Regions from separate parts of the Homo sapiens genome. Here all the other regions are linked to region 2. Evidence: promoter capture Hi-C in human tissues and cell types (Jung and others, 2019). All regions are on one chromosome and are shown on one strand. The core of a region is centred on a gene start or on the middle of the fragment in contact, and the rest is flanking DNA. Distances in the headings are between cores, read along the strand shown. Region 1 has its middle 32 kb from the start of NSG1. Region 2 holds the start of OTOP1 (otopetrin 1). Region 3 overlaps STX18 (syntaxin 18).

Region 1 (4,257 bases), core at 906-3,405, 130 kb after region 2:
TGAGACAACTCAATTTTGAGATAGTATAACACAAATTTGAGTTTGTTTTGTCTGGTGTACTCCCTCTTTTGGTCAGCTTAGCTTGCCCATTTATGTTGGGATCAAAAGAATCACACCAAAGATTCCTGCCCCAGTAGCACTAGAGATATGGGATGGATATCCAGACAAGAGTGTATCCACACCATTATATTACAAGGCACTGACTGGCATCCCACTGAAAGGGCACAGTGACTAGGTATTCATTGGTTAGCTGCAAATGGAACATCTTTGCTGTGCGGGCACCAACTATGGCCGTGGTTACCCATAGGATGGTTAAGACGGTATTTTTTGGGTTATGCCTGGGCACAAGGTTGAATAGTTTATACTCTTTCAAAGCCCACAAATCTTCCTCACTTATATAATCATTGAGTTCATTGGGTTCATTCTGTATGCCATTGGTGTGATCATTTAGCTTCCATCTTTCTGCCACAACTAGGTATTAAGGATGTCATTTGGCTTGCAGAGGCCCTAGCCATTTATACACAAAAGGCCCTAGATGATAGCCACATGGGCATCTCGTTATTAAACAACAAAGTTACTCTTATGAGAAAGGCCGTATCACAGAACTGTGTGTTGTGCCGAACCCCTATTAACCTCAGTAGGGAAGGCACAAGATTCAAGAGGCTAAGCGACCCAAAGCCAGCAAACAAGACACGGGGTTTTATCAGGGGGCTTACGCACAGGGGAGAGAATCCAGTGGCTGTGGGCTAGACAAGAGAACCCCCTTATGTATAGAAACCATCTAGGCTGGGCGTGGTGGCTCAGGCCTGTAATCCCAGCGCTTTGGGAGGCCGAGGTGAGTGGATCACCTGAGGTCAGGAGTTCGAGACCAGCCTGACCAACATGGAGAAACCCCGGCTCTACTAAAAATACAAAACTAGCCAGGCGTAATGGCGCATGCCTGTAATCCCAGCTATTCAGGAGGCTGAGACAGAAGAACTGCTTGAATCCGGGAGGCGGAGGTTGCAGTGAGCTGAGATTATGCCATTGCACTCTAGCCTGGGCAACAAGAGTGAAACTCTGTCGGAAAAAAAAAAGAAAGGCTCTAGTGATGGCAGGCTGAGCAGGGAAACCACAAATGCTTGCAAACAGCATGCAGTTCATATAGCATTTTCACTTAACACTTTCTCCCCTTAACAACCTACACCTGGCAACCTTCATTTAACCCAAAACTCAGAACCTCAGTGCCCTGTATGGCCCACATTCAATGGGATGGGATGGGAACTCAGATGTTTACCATAGATACGGAATGAATCTCCAGGTTGTCCACTCCCAGGTTCTCTAGTTGGGAACACACATTCAGGTGCATCTTCCACACAGGGTCAGTCTAAGGATATGCTTAAATGTTTGCTGTCAGGTGCATTTACCTGACACCATATGACTTTAGACATACTCACTGCAGCCCAAGGGGGAACCTATGCTATCATAAAAACTGGCTGCTGTATCTATATCCCAGGTAACATCACTAAATTGATGGCTGATATGAAAACTCAAATAATTATCCTTTCAGATCCAATGCCCTCCCTAAACGACTGGCTAAGCAGCTGGTTGGGATCTTGGGAAACTTGGTGGCAAAAGCTATTACTCGTTCTAGAAATTATCATCATTGTTTGGTTTTGTCTTCTTCTTTTTTTTTTCTTTTTTGAGACGGAGTCTCACTCTGTCACCCAGGCTGGAGTGTAATGGCACAACCTCGGCTCACTGCAACCTTCGCCTCCCAGGTTCAAGCGATTCTCCTGCCTCAGCCTCCCAAGTAGCTGGGATTACAGGTGCCCACCACCAAGCCCGGCTAATTTTTGTGTTTTTAGTAGAGACGGGGTTTCACCATGTTGGCTAGGCTGGTCTCGAACTCCTGACCTCAAGTGATCCACCCACCTTGGCCACCCAAAGTGTTGGGATTACAGGCATGAGCCACTGTGCCCAGCGGGTTTTGCCTTCTTTTTGTCTTCACTGCTGCTACAGAATGTATTTGCAAGGGAGTCAACTCACAACTGAAGAAATGAAATTAATGGTCACTTGAAGAACTGCATTAACTGAAGATGCAGCGGAGTAGCCTGACTCAGGTCACAAAGTCACTTCCCTCATATTGCTTTAAATTAGGTTGCTACCTTATCAGGTTGATAGCCTGACATTCCCCCTACCATGGACATGACACTCTAGGAATGAGCCTTCTAGCAATAAGGGACTAAGGTCCTGAACATAAAAGGAGCCAAAACCATTTGAGTTCATCTATGAAGCTTTCTTCCAAAGATCTTGATGAAAAGGGGGAAATGTGAAGTTAAATAATTCAAGCTTAAAGCTGTTGAAACCTCGAATTAACCTGAGCCTTGAGAGCAATGTGGCTATGCAATCTCGGTCACATGGGTTGCAGCTGCAACTTCTGCCTTTATTTCTTCTTGTTAGTAATTAAGAAGACCCAAGCTGCACCAGAGATGAGACCCCCTCAGATCATTGCCCCTCCTCATGGAGTAATAAAGTAATCTTCCTTGGTATGAAGCAATCTGTAACCAATCCAATTGCTGTGATGTATGCACCTGGCCTTGTAGGGTAGCTGATGTAATCTTCCTGGAACTTCTCTACTGATATCAATGAAACCTTAACTCCTCCACGTTGGAAACTCTGAGCCCATTCCTTTGGAGTTGGTACTTTCACTGGTAGCCATCCTTAAGCTTTGCACTTGAATAAACTCTATACTCAATCACACTTTCTGAATCTCATTCTTTAAGGTTAACACTTCCTTCCAAAGGCTCTAGGTGACAACTCTTTGCCTCTTTTCAACCTCTGGTGGCTCTAGGCGTTTCTTGGCTTGTAGCCGCCTCACTCCAATGTCTGCCTCCATTTCATGTGGGGTCCTCCTCTGTCTTCTATGTGTCTCTTACAAGGTCACTGTCATTAGATTTAGGGTTCAGGATCATCTGGGATGATCTCATCCCGAGATCCTCAATTTGGTTATATCTGCAAAGATCTTTATTCCAAATAAGGTGACATTCACAGTTTCCGATGGTTAGGACATGGCCATCTCTTTTTGGAGGTCAGCTTTCAACTCATTCAATACACCTGTAGTCAGTGTATTTATAATTCATTTCAATTCATTTCATTTCTATTCAGTGTTTCATTTTAATCCAATTCACTTCCATCAATATTGATTTTACACCAGCCATGTAACAGGCCTGACAAGTTCCAGAGATAACTGACGTGGGTCCTCCCTTGGAAATGGTTCCCCCTCTAATGAGGCAATAGGAGAGACGGAGACAGACAGAGGAGAGGGGCGGCTAGCTCTCCCTGTAGGCTTGGGGTGGTGCTTCCAGAAAAGGTGACATAGGAGCACAGTGGTTGGATGAGGAGGAGGCTGCTCTTTAGGAAGCCAAGGGACCAGCCTGCTAACAGCACAGCAGTGGACGGCTAGTCCCGCAGGGACCAACGAGCCTGCCGTGGAGGATGCTGGGAGAGCAGGGGAGACGTGGCCCAGGTCGCAGCTCAGGGGGAGCAGGACCCCCAGGCCTGCTGGTGGACCAAGTATTCCCGGGGTCTCAGAACATCCCCGGCCAAGCCCTCTCCACCCCCAGCACCCCTTGCGCACACAGGGCCACGGCTGTTGGATGCCGGGTCTGGGGCCTCCTTGGGACTATGAGGCTAGATTCTCTCTTTACAGTCGGGAAAAATGGCCACCTCGCCTGTAGCATTATATTCACCAGATTAAAGGCGGGCATTAAATGGCTGCTCGCCAATGGCCTCCTTTATCCCGAGAGCTATTCCCCCTCCTCCCTCCTCCCTCCTCCCTGAGCCTCTGTGATTCAGGAAAAGTCAATCTAGAGGAGATAAGGCCAGGCACATAAATATCCCTCCCTTCCTTTGTGGCAAAATCTCCTGCTTGGAACACATTCCTTGAGTGTAAATTTGGGTCCTTCTCTGGAGAGTTCACCCCCGCGGCCCTCACCCTCACCCCCACACAGAGCTCTTGCAGTTCCGATGCACAGGGTCGCCCCTGTGAGCTGCTGGAAGGCAGGAGCGCACCTCCCACGCTCCCTGCGCCTTTCTGCTCTGTCTGCTGTCTCCCTGCACAACCTCAGTCCTGGCTGCTCAGGGCTCTCCCCAGGCAGAGGCCTCTTTGTCCAGTTGGAGCTGCAGAGACATTTTCTGTTGGAGACGAACGTGCTCTGCAGGGAGCTATTTGGCCTTGGGCGTGTTACCCCTTCCTGCCTCTCTGTGTGCACATCT
Region 2 (4,773 bases), core at 192-2,691:
GAGCCCAGGAGGAAGAGGCTGTAGTGAGCTGTGATTGTGCCACTGCACTCCAGCCTGGGAGATAGAGCAACATTGTCTCAAAAAAAAAAAAAAAAATGTGGCAGCCCCTTGAGGAAGAAAGAGCTCCTATCTTGACAATTTCAGCCAATGCCTGTGAGTACCAGCAGGAGCCTCTATCCCTCTTTGCCCCACCCTGCATCCACGCATTCATTATTTCATTCATACCCCCTCATTTTCTCAACACCCACTTCGTGCCAGGCCCTGAGGTGGCTCTAGGACCGAGAGACAGGGATCACAGAGCTCCCCAGTGGAGTGGAGGGTACAGACATGTTGACAAGAACACTGGAGCCCAGTGCGGGCTGGGGGCATGTGGTCAGACCTGCAAAGCCGGGAGGAGAAGGGGGTCGGAGAAGCTTCGCGGGGAGAATGGGGTGAGGCCTGAGCCCTGTCTCGGAAAGCAGAGGGGCAGGTGGGAAAGTGGAAAAGACATTCCTGGAGGAGAGAACCGAAGGTGCCGAATGTGCAGAGGCAGAGGTCCTGCGATGGGCGAGAAAGTTCGCGAGAATGACCCCAGCACAGGATGAGAACAAAGGAGGGGATCAAAGGAAACGGGCCCTCGGGGGCCGAGTGCTAGAAGGCTCTGAGTGTCAGGAGAGGGAGCGTGGCCTCCATCATGGGGTCAGTAGGGCCACTGCATGGCTTTAAGTCAGGGAAGGACAAGAGAGGTTTCTGTAACTGTGGCTGTAATGATGGAAGCGTCTGGAGGCGGAGAGGAGGCTCCTGCGGCGACCCAAGCTTCAGAGAGAGAGAGAGGAAAGGAAGGGCAGACAGGAAAGCTAGGAAAGATGCACAGAGAGACCAAGGCAGAAAAGGCTGAAGGGAAGACGGCAGCGGTAGGAAGGGCGCAGAGCAGCCTCAGGATGCAGCCAGCGGGCGAGGAGGCGGAGACCCGCTCGCCCGGCGCCTGGACTCACCGCGCAGCCAGCCGGCACCCGCGTGCGTGTCCTTGAGGCGGAAGAGGCGGCGGTGCGCGGAGCTGCGGCCCACGTACCACAGCATCCACAGCAGCTGCAGCAGCATGAGCGCCGTCAGGAAGCACAGCAGGTCGCTCTTGCTCACGCCCGCGGCGTGCACGGCCCAGGCCAGCAGCAGCAGCAGCCCCGCCACGAACACGATCAGCCCATACTGGCTGCTCAGCATCTCGGCCAGTTTCTGTGGGACGCTGGCGCGCACACCGCCCCGCCGGGGGGCCGGGGATTCCGGGGACCTCGGGGCCGAGGACGAGGGAGGCGAGCAGGCCGCTGGCCCCGACGACCCTGCGACCGAGGCGCTTGCAGCTGCCCGGGGCGAGGCGGGCGACCCCAGGCCCTCGAGCATCTTCGAGACACCCGCGCCAAGTCTGGTCCCGGGGGTGGCTGCCGTCGGGCCCCGCCTGCGCTCCTGGCTCCTGTCCTTGCCCCGACGCCTCTGCCAACCAGCACCTCCCTTTTCAACTCCCTTCCGATTCCTACCCCACGCCCCTGCCAACCTGCCCCCTCTCCTGTCACCTCCCGACGCCCGCCCTCCCCTCTTCTGCCCCTTCGTCCTCCGTCAAGGTACCACCCTGTCCACTTACCCAGCGCCCCACCCTGCTGACCTGGGATTCTACGAGCTCCCTTGCCCGCTGCCCCTCACTGGGCAACGCCCGGGGCAGCCATCTGCCCCCTCCGGGACCCACGCGGACAGCTCCCCGCTCCTGATCCCTGGGACACTGGCCAGCCCTGCCGCGACACTAGCGCGTCCTCCCGCACCTCCGCCCGCGCGCCCGGCCCCCGCCCGCCGTCTGCAGCCCTCACCCCTGAGCCGACGCCCGCCCACCCAGCCCCTGTCCGGGCGCCCCGGAAACGCTGGGTGACAAGAAGTGCCTGCCGGGGTCCCGGGGTTGCGGGACTGGGGAGAGGGGGTCTCCCGGAGCCAGCCCGAGGGGGGTGTGCGCGGGGGGCGTGGCTGCTGCCAAGCGGGGCGTCCGGGGCTCCACAGGGGCTTGCGATGCTCCGGGCCTTCCCCGAGGGTCTCCGTTGGGGAACCCAGAGGTCCAGGGGATCCTGCCTGCGTCCGTGTCCGAGCGTCCGACGGTCTGTACTCGTCCCTGCGTATTTCTGTATTGTCTTCTCTGTGCGGGTCACTCTGTGTCTGGCCGTCTGTTATCGGGTGTGTCTGGTTAGGGGTGGAGGAGCGCCCGTCACTGGCTCTCTGAATTGGGGGAGGGGCCGCCTTCTGTGGGTTTTTCTGTTTGTCCGTCTGGTGTGCCTGTGTGTCGGCTGCGAGATGCCCAGGCGCAGAATAAGACCTGAGCCACTTTCTAAGAAAAGAGACCATCCCGCACCCTCCCCCAAAGGAGCGGCAGCCGTTCTGGACCCAGAGGAGCTGGAATGAGGGACGCCCCGGGGTCTGCCCTGTTGCTACCGGCGCCCAAGCGTCTTCACTAGCCCCTTCCAAAGCCCCGGTGCCCGCCTGGCACCCGCCTGCTCCCGGAAGGGGACTGAGTCTGCCAGGGAGCCCCGCTCGGGTGCCGCTAAGTGGAGGTCTGGGAAGTTTCAGCTGAAGAGCGTTCTACGGGTCTGGCGTGGCTGACAGGAGGCGCCGGACCCCAGCCCCCCAGCCGCAGGTTGGAGAGGGGAGTTGGGAGCGAGCCTGGGGCAAGCCCACATCCCACCGTGCAGCAGCCCGGGGCTGGGCCCGGAAGACACCCTCTCGCTCTTGGTTTAAGGTTCTTGCCGTCTTGAAATTCTTAATTTTTGAACAAGAGGGCCCATGTTTTTGTTTTGCGCTAAGCGCAGCAAATTGCAATAGCAGGTCCTGACTAGTAAAGGAGGGGTGGGGAGTCCTGGGCTAGCAAGGAGTCAACCTGGGGGACCTTACCTTGCCACCATCATTCTTCCAATTCACGCATTCATGCATTTGATCAACACATATGTATGTGTTGACCTATGAATCATTTGCTGCTCTCTGTTCTAGCAGCTGGGTTTTCAGCTATGAAAGGCTCTGCTCAGGTGGAGCTGATGTTCAGGTAGAGAAACAGCAATAAACAAACAGCTAATGAGCCCTCACTGGGAAGCTGGGGATCATGACCTGTGAGACTTAGCCCTCAACTTCTAAGAGCTTGGGAGTGGGGACAGAGTAAGCAGCACAACACCCTTGAGCAGGGCTACAACCAGGGGCCTGGGAGGAGTCCAGGTCTGCAGGAAGGCTGAGAGGTTCAGGGAGGAGGCAACACCTGCACAGTCTTCTTTCTTTCTTTCTTTCTCTTATTTTTATCTTTTAATAAGGACAGGGTCTCCCTGTGTCTCCCAGGCTGGAATGAAGTGGTGTGATTATGGCTCACTACAGCCTCGAATTCTGGGGCTCAAGTGCTCCTCCCGCCTCAGCCTCCCGAATAGCTGGGACTACAGGTGTGTGCTACCACGCCTGGCTCATTTTTTTTAAATTGTTTTTTTGTAGAGACGGGTCTCACTATGTTGCTCAGGTTGATCTCAAACTCCTGGGCTCAAGCCATCCTCCTACCTCAGCCTCCCAAAGCACTGGGATCACAGGCTCCAGCTACCACGTCCAGCCTCCTGCACATTCTTTAGGCTTAGGAGTGGATGGTCAGGCGGAAGGGAGCAGGGGTCTGGAAAGGCAATCCAGAGAGAAGATCCAGCAAACCTACTAGGGACCCTCCACCTTCTCCCCTCCTCTTCCTACCAACAGCCAGAGCAACCTGGGAGCCTGAGCTGAAGATGGAAGAGCCTGTCTGCGTGTCTCCCCAGTGACTAGTGAGGCGGCTTTTCCTCCCGAAGCTGGACCTTACATCAGTGAGAAATAAACTTCCATTGTGCTAAGCCACCAAAGTCTGAAATGTTACAGCAGCTAGCAGTACCTTAACCCGTTGAGTACAAAGATAAATAAAGCTCAGTCACCATCTGAAAATCAAGTGGAATGCCTGTCTCTGGGCTACCTGCACTTTTTTGTTTGTTTGTTTGGTTGGTTGGTTGGTTTTTTGAGATGGAGTCTCACTCTGTTACCCAAGCTGGAGTGCAGTGGCACAATCATCTCAGCTCACTGCAACCTCTGCCTCCTGAGTTCAAGCGATTCTCCTGCCTCAGCCTCCCGAGTAGCTGGGATTACAGGCGCCTGCCACCATGCCCGGCTAATTTCTGTATTTTTAGTAGAGGTGCGGTTTCCCCATGCTGGCTAGCCTGGTCTTAACTCCTGACCTCGTGATCCACCCCTTGGCCTCCCAAAGTGCTGGAATTACCAGCATGAGCCACCCCACCTGGCCTGCATTTTTTTAAGAAGCAATGAAATGAAAGTTTCTGGAGGCTAAAGTCAGCCCCCTTTATTGTAATCTCAAGACAATGTTAAAACTCACTGAGAGCCTGTAATCCCAGCACTTTGGGAGGTCGAGGCAGATCACTTGAGGTCAGGAGTTCGAGACTAGCCTGGCCAACATGGTGAAACACCGTCTCTACTAAAAATACAAAAATTAGCCAGCGTGGTGGTGCGCACCTGTAATCCCAGCTACTTGAGAGGCTGAGGCAGGAGAATCTCTTGAACCCAGGAGGCAGAGGCAGAGGCAGAGGTTGCAGTGAGCCAAGATTGTGCCACTGGACTCCAGCCTGGATGACAGAGTGAGACTCCATCTCAATAAATACATAAAATAAAACTGAGAGATTTACCCACACTGTGTTCTATCTTCCACCGGTGAGATTTTTTTCAAAAGTCTGAGCTACACGGGGCCCCCAGTTTCTTACG
Region 3 (4,289 bases), core at 331-2,830, 200 kb after region 2:
AAACGATCCTCCCACTTCAGCCTCCCAAGTAGCTGGGAGTATAGGCATGTGCCACCACGCCTGGCTAAATTTTTAAAATTTTTTGTAGAGATGGGGGGTCTCCCTATGTTGCCCAGGCTGGTCTTGAACTCTTGAGCTCACACCATGCTCCCGCCTCGGCCTCCCAGAGTGCTGGGATTACAGGCATGAGCCACCGCGCAGGGCTGAGACCCCATCTTGTTGCAGTGCTCCTTCCGCCACACTTACCATCCCTCCTGCGCCACTCGCCGGTGACGGACAAAAACCTAAGAGCTATTGTTTGTGGAGCAGCCACCATATGCCAGGGGCTTCCCTTCTAGTCTCTCATTTCTTTCTGAAGTCCACAGAAGTAAGCTTTAAAATGTATGTGCTTCGAAATACATATGCTAGCTTCAAAAATAGTGCTTTGTGTTTTACTATCATCATATCTCTTAAAAAACAGGCTAAAATTTAAAAATCAAAATAGGATGCAGGATGCTTACAGAAAACGTTTACTCCAAACGAAGCCTTGAAAAGCTTGAGAAGCGTGGGATAACACAGGGGGCGTCTGGCCCCACAGGAGCAGAGACGGTGCTAGACGTCCTTACAAGCAGGAGTGCCTGCTTCTCTCCTCCTTTCGGTGGTGGTGAAGCTGCTTCCTAACAGGGTCAGGGCAGAATGAATGCTAGCGTGGGTTTTTAGAGAAACCTGACTGACACATTGTAGGGAGGAAGGCAGCATGTGGCCTCTGATTCCCAGCAATGAATATTACTGGGATGGCTTTGCCTCATCATCACCCCTTTTTAGAGAGTCTCAAAGTGTGAACTAAGTGACCACTGCCAAGGTTCCAATGAGAGAATCAATATGAACTACAATGCAACACTGATGGAAAAAACAAGAAAGACACATTGTTCCTCAGGACTTAGGAACTCCCAGTGGGCCGGGCGCAGTGGCTCTCGTCTGTAATCCCAGCACTTTGGGAGGCCAAGGCAGGTGGATCACCTGAAGTCAGGAGTTCGGGACCAGCCTGGCCAAGATGGTGAAACCCCGTCTTTACTAAAAATACCAAAATTAGCCAGGCGTGGTGGCATGCCTGTAATCCCAGCTACTCAAGAGGCTGACTGAGGCAGGAGAATCGCTTGAACCTGGGAGGATGAGGTTGCAGTGAGCCAAGATAGCAACATTGCACTCCAGCCTGGGCGACACAGCAAGACTCTGTCTCCAAAAAAAAAAAAAAGAAAAAGAAAAAAAAAGAAAAGAAAAAGAAACTCCCGGTGAGCCAAGGCAAGGCTCTGCCTATGCTCTGCACGCCCCTCCCAGGCCCCCTGGAGCCGCTGGGAGGTTTGAAGCAGGGTAGTGTTATTAAAAAGGGCGACTCCTATGAACCCGAACTTGCAAACCACTGTTAGACTTAATGTACCTCATTTACAATGATTTCACTCTGGCTGTGTGGTTTATGGAAAGTCATTTTGTGAGTGAAGTATCTTAAGTCAAGTAGTCCAGTTTAAAATACTGGAGAAAATTTTGTCTTTCAAACGTTCCCATAGTCTTTGGATGCTAAAAATAAAAGGGCAAATTTATCAGGTCTTGAAAAGTTTTGCCAGTTATTGGCTGGAAGAATTTCAGAAAATTCACTTGAAAAGAACAATCCTATTTCCCACGCAGACACCATCCCTGAGGTGGCATGGACCGCGCGTTGTGAGAGGCCTGGGTCTGAGCTCCTGTAACCTACTGACTGAAAAGCAACTGCCCGTCAGCATCGTGCTGGATGCTTCTGCAGTTATCTCTCAAACAGAGAATAACCCTGCAGGAGTCCCTCCCTCCTATAGATGGGAAACTGTAGCTTGTGGGGGCTACCTAGCTTACCCAGCACATCCAGAACCCTGACTGCCAGGCCTGGACTCTCCTCCCACGTGCCACCGCATGTGCTACCACATGGGGTGGTCAGTGGGTCCCCTGTGGGGAGCTCCTCCTCCATCACACGTGTGCAGAGGCAGCTCTGGGTAGTGAGAGCTTTTCCCTGAGGAGCTCTGCGCACACACACCTGCTAGCAACACATGGCTCTGCTCCTGGCTGTGTAGAGCAGCAGCCTTTGGGAAAAATGTCTCGTGCTCTCAAGTACATTCCCCTTTGAGTGAAAACATACAGCTCCTTTGTTTTTGTTTTTTTACCTGTTGCAAAACCTTTTCCGTGAATATCTCTTGGAGTCTGGAAATCTCAACCACTCTCCCTTCGATTTGCCTTCATAAAAAGAACAGATTACATATTAACTATTAGCACTTGGTAATCTAACAGGACTGTTACACACTTCTAAAGAAATCCTATCTTCTACGTGAAGGTGGGAGAGACAGGGGGCACACTGTGTCGGCTGGGGGAAGAGGAGATGGGAGAGGAAGGCGAACTCTCCTTACTGGGTCACCTTCCCTGTCTTCTGGCATAGCCTAGCACACTGGTCTTTTTGGAAGTCCACTCTACCATGCCAACTGACCCTCAGTCCCAAGAGGTGGGTGTGTGCAGTGCCCTTTGCATTCTGTGTCACTGCTCGGGGAATGGGGAGGGCCTGGTTGTGCCCCAGTTACAGAAAGCAGTCTCCAGTAAGTTCTCTGCCTAGCCTCATCACCATGGTAACACATGGTGGGGATTCAGAAGGTCAGAATATGCTGATGATCCAGCTTTGTTAATGCTCAGCAGGTTAAAGAAAAAAGTGTATTTACCTTCAAACCAACTCCCTGTTCCAAGAAAAAAGCTCCTCTGATTCATTTAGAAAATGCCATGTCTTGGTTTGGCAACGGAGTGTTCTGTCGGATCTGAAACACTTGGGCTAGCCATCTTCCTGGTGTCAGGGGCAGCATGGGCTACCCTGGGGGGCGGGTGGGGGCACATCTATTTAGAAACAGAAGCTGGCCCAAGCTGAAGTCAACTGCTGTTCCAGCACAAAGCAGCGACAGGAAGTGACAGGAGGCAAAAAGTGGTGGGAGCTGAGCTCCTGGCCAGGTGGAAGCAGTGATGAATCCCAACAGTATCACAGTGGCAGGGGGCAGGGGAGGAGATGTGGGAAGAAAAGCCAGTGAGTATCTGGGCATGGGGGAGTAGCGGGGTGGGGGCGGTAGTGGGGCAGACAGTGAAAGCTAGGCTGTCAGAGGAGGACTAGGAGGTCCATCTCTGAGGGCAGAAGGCGAAGAGCCCCTTGGAGGCTGACACCTACACTGAGAAAGTCCTCAGGCTGTGTGAGTGCAGCATCAGGATTGATTTTATTTGGGGGACATGTCCACAATACAACAGGCTCTGCAAAGTCCTGGGCCTTACTTTCAGCATGCTCCAAGCCTTCCCACAGAAACTAGAGGCTAACGGGTGCATGTGTGAGTGACCAAGGCCTTGCCTTCTGCATTCCTGACTCCCTGGTGGGTACAGGAGCAGGCAGACCCCAGTGGAACCATTTGCAGAAGAGGGCTTCCCTTGGTTAGCTGCCCTTCATAAGGGCCCCATTTCATTTCAGAGTCGCTGCGTGGAAACAGCCCGAATGGTGGTGGAAATTATACGCAGGTAATCTGTAGTCACTCCTGTATCTCTCGGGGTGGGAAGCACCTGGGCCCCCCGCAGCAGTGGCAGCAGGCAGGAGGTAACCCACAGGCCCACAAGCTGAGGGAGTTGTGGATTCAGGCCACATGCCCACCCCAGCCCAGTCAAAATGGCTGAGGGGGGCTGCACCAGCCCAAGGGCCCCATGGGGATGCCTGGGCACCAAGGTAAATAAAGTTCCTAGTTCCTGGAAAAGTTGTAAAGCAGGCTATCAGCTCACAGAGGAGCTACAAACATACCTCACTTCATCAAACAAGCTGTTCATTTCACCAATTAGTCGCTGATTTTCCTGTTCAAACTGTGAGGAAACAGACACACTCAGGATGACATCATACTGAACTTAGGCAAGAGTCTAGCAAGAAAGCGGACCTACGCTCCAGGAATCACTGCCGAAGCCCCCATTTCCAGCTGCGGCAACGTGGCAGCCGGTGCTGGACGACCGTTAGCATTAGTGTGAACAACGTCCCTGCTTTCAGGAGAAAGTTTTAAAAAACAGCTGTGCTGCCTGGTAATTGACTTCTCCATCTCAACCACTGCACTCCAGGGGTACAAGCTGACTGCTATGGCTGTAGCTGTATCTACCTACCCGCTCTCCCCTGGGATCCCACGGCCTGCTTCCTGACTCTAGTACCATTATTAAGAAAATTCTTTTGTTGTTGTTTTCTCTCATGAACTATACTGAAGGACTATACATATTTTTTAATATGGAGAAGG

The links. The method cuts DNA at HindIII sites, captures the fragments that hold promoters and counts their contacts. A contact is called where the count stands out against the background at its distance.
Region 1: a fragment that was not itself captured here is called in contact with the fragment with the promoter of OTOP1 in region 2 in 4 of the 25 tissues and cell types used here (bladder, dorsolateral prefrontal cortex, mesenchymal stem cells and 1 more).
Region 3: a fragment that was not itself captured here is called in contact with the fragment with the promoter of OTOP1 in region 2 in 2 of the 25 tissues and cell types used here (heart right ventricle and lymphoblastoid cells).

What each region holds. Positions count from the first base shown.
Region 1 is chr4:4,352,886-4,357,142 of GRCh38, forward strand. No RefSeq gene overlaps it. Among named protein-coding and RNA genes, the nearest start is that of NSG1, 32 kb to the right of the region's middle. The HindIII fragment of the contact is 3,687 bases long and covers 313-3,999 here.
Region 2 is chr4:4,225,488-4,230,260 of GRCh38, forward strand. OTOP1 (otopetrin 1) reads right to left here and starts at 1,442. Exons shown (of 6, transcript NM_177998.3): 1 at 975-1,442. The coding sequence starts at 1,377. RefSeq lists enhancers at 572-1,192, 1,814-2,434. The HindIII fragment of the contact is 12,453 bases long and covers 605-4,773 here.
Region 3 is chr4:4,421,350-4,425,638 of GRCh38, forward strand. STX18 (syntaxin 18) reads right to left here. Exons shown (of 11, transcript NM_016930.4): 8 at 3,815-3,873; 9 at 2,169-2,238. Among named protein-coding and RNA genes, the nearest start is that of NSG1, 36 kb to the left of the region's middle. The HindIII fragment of the contact is 3,714 bases long and covers 1-3,437 here.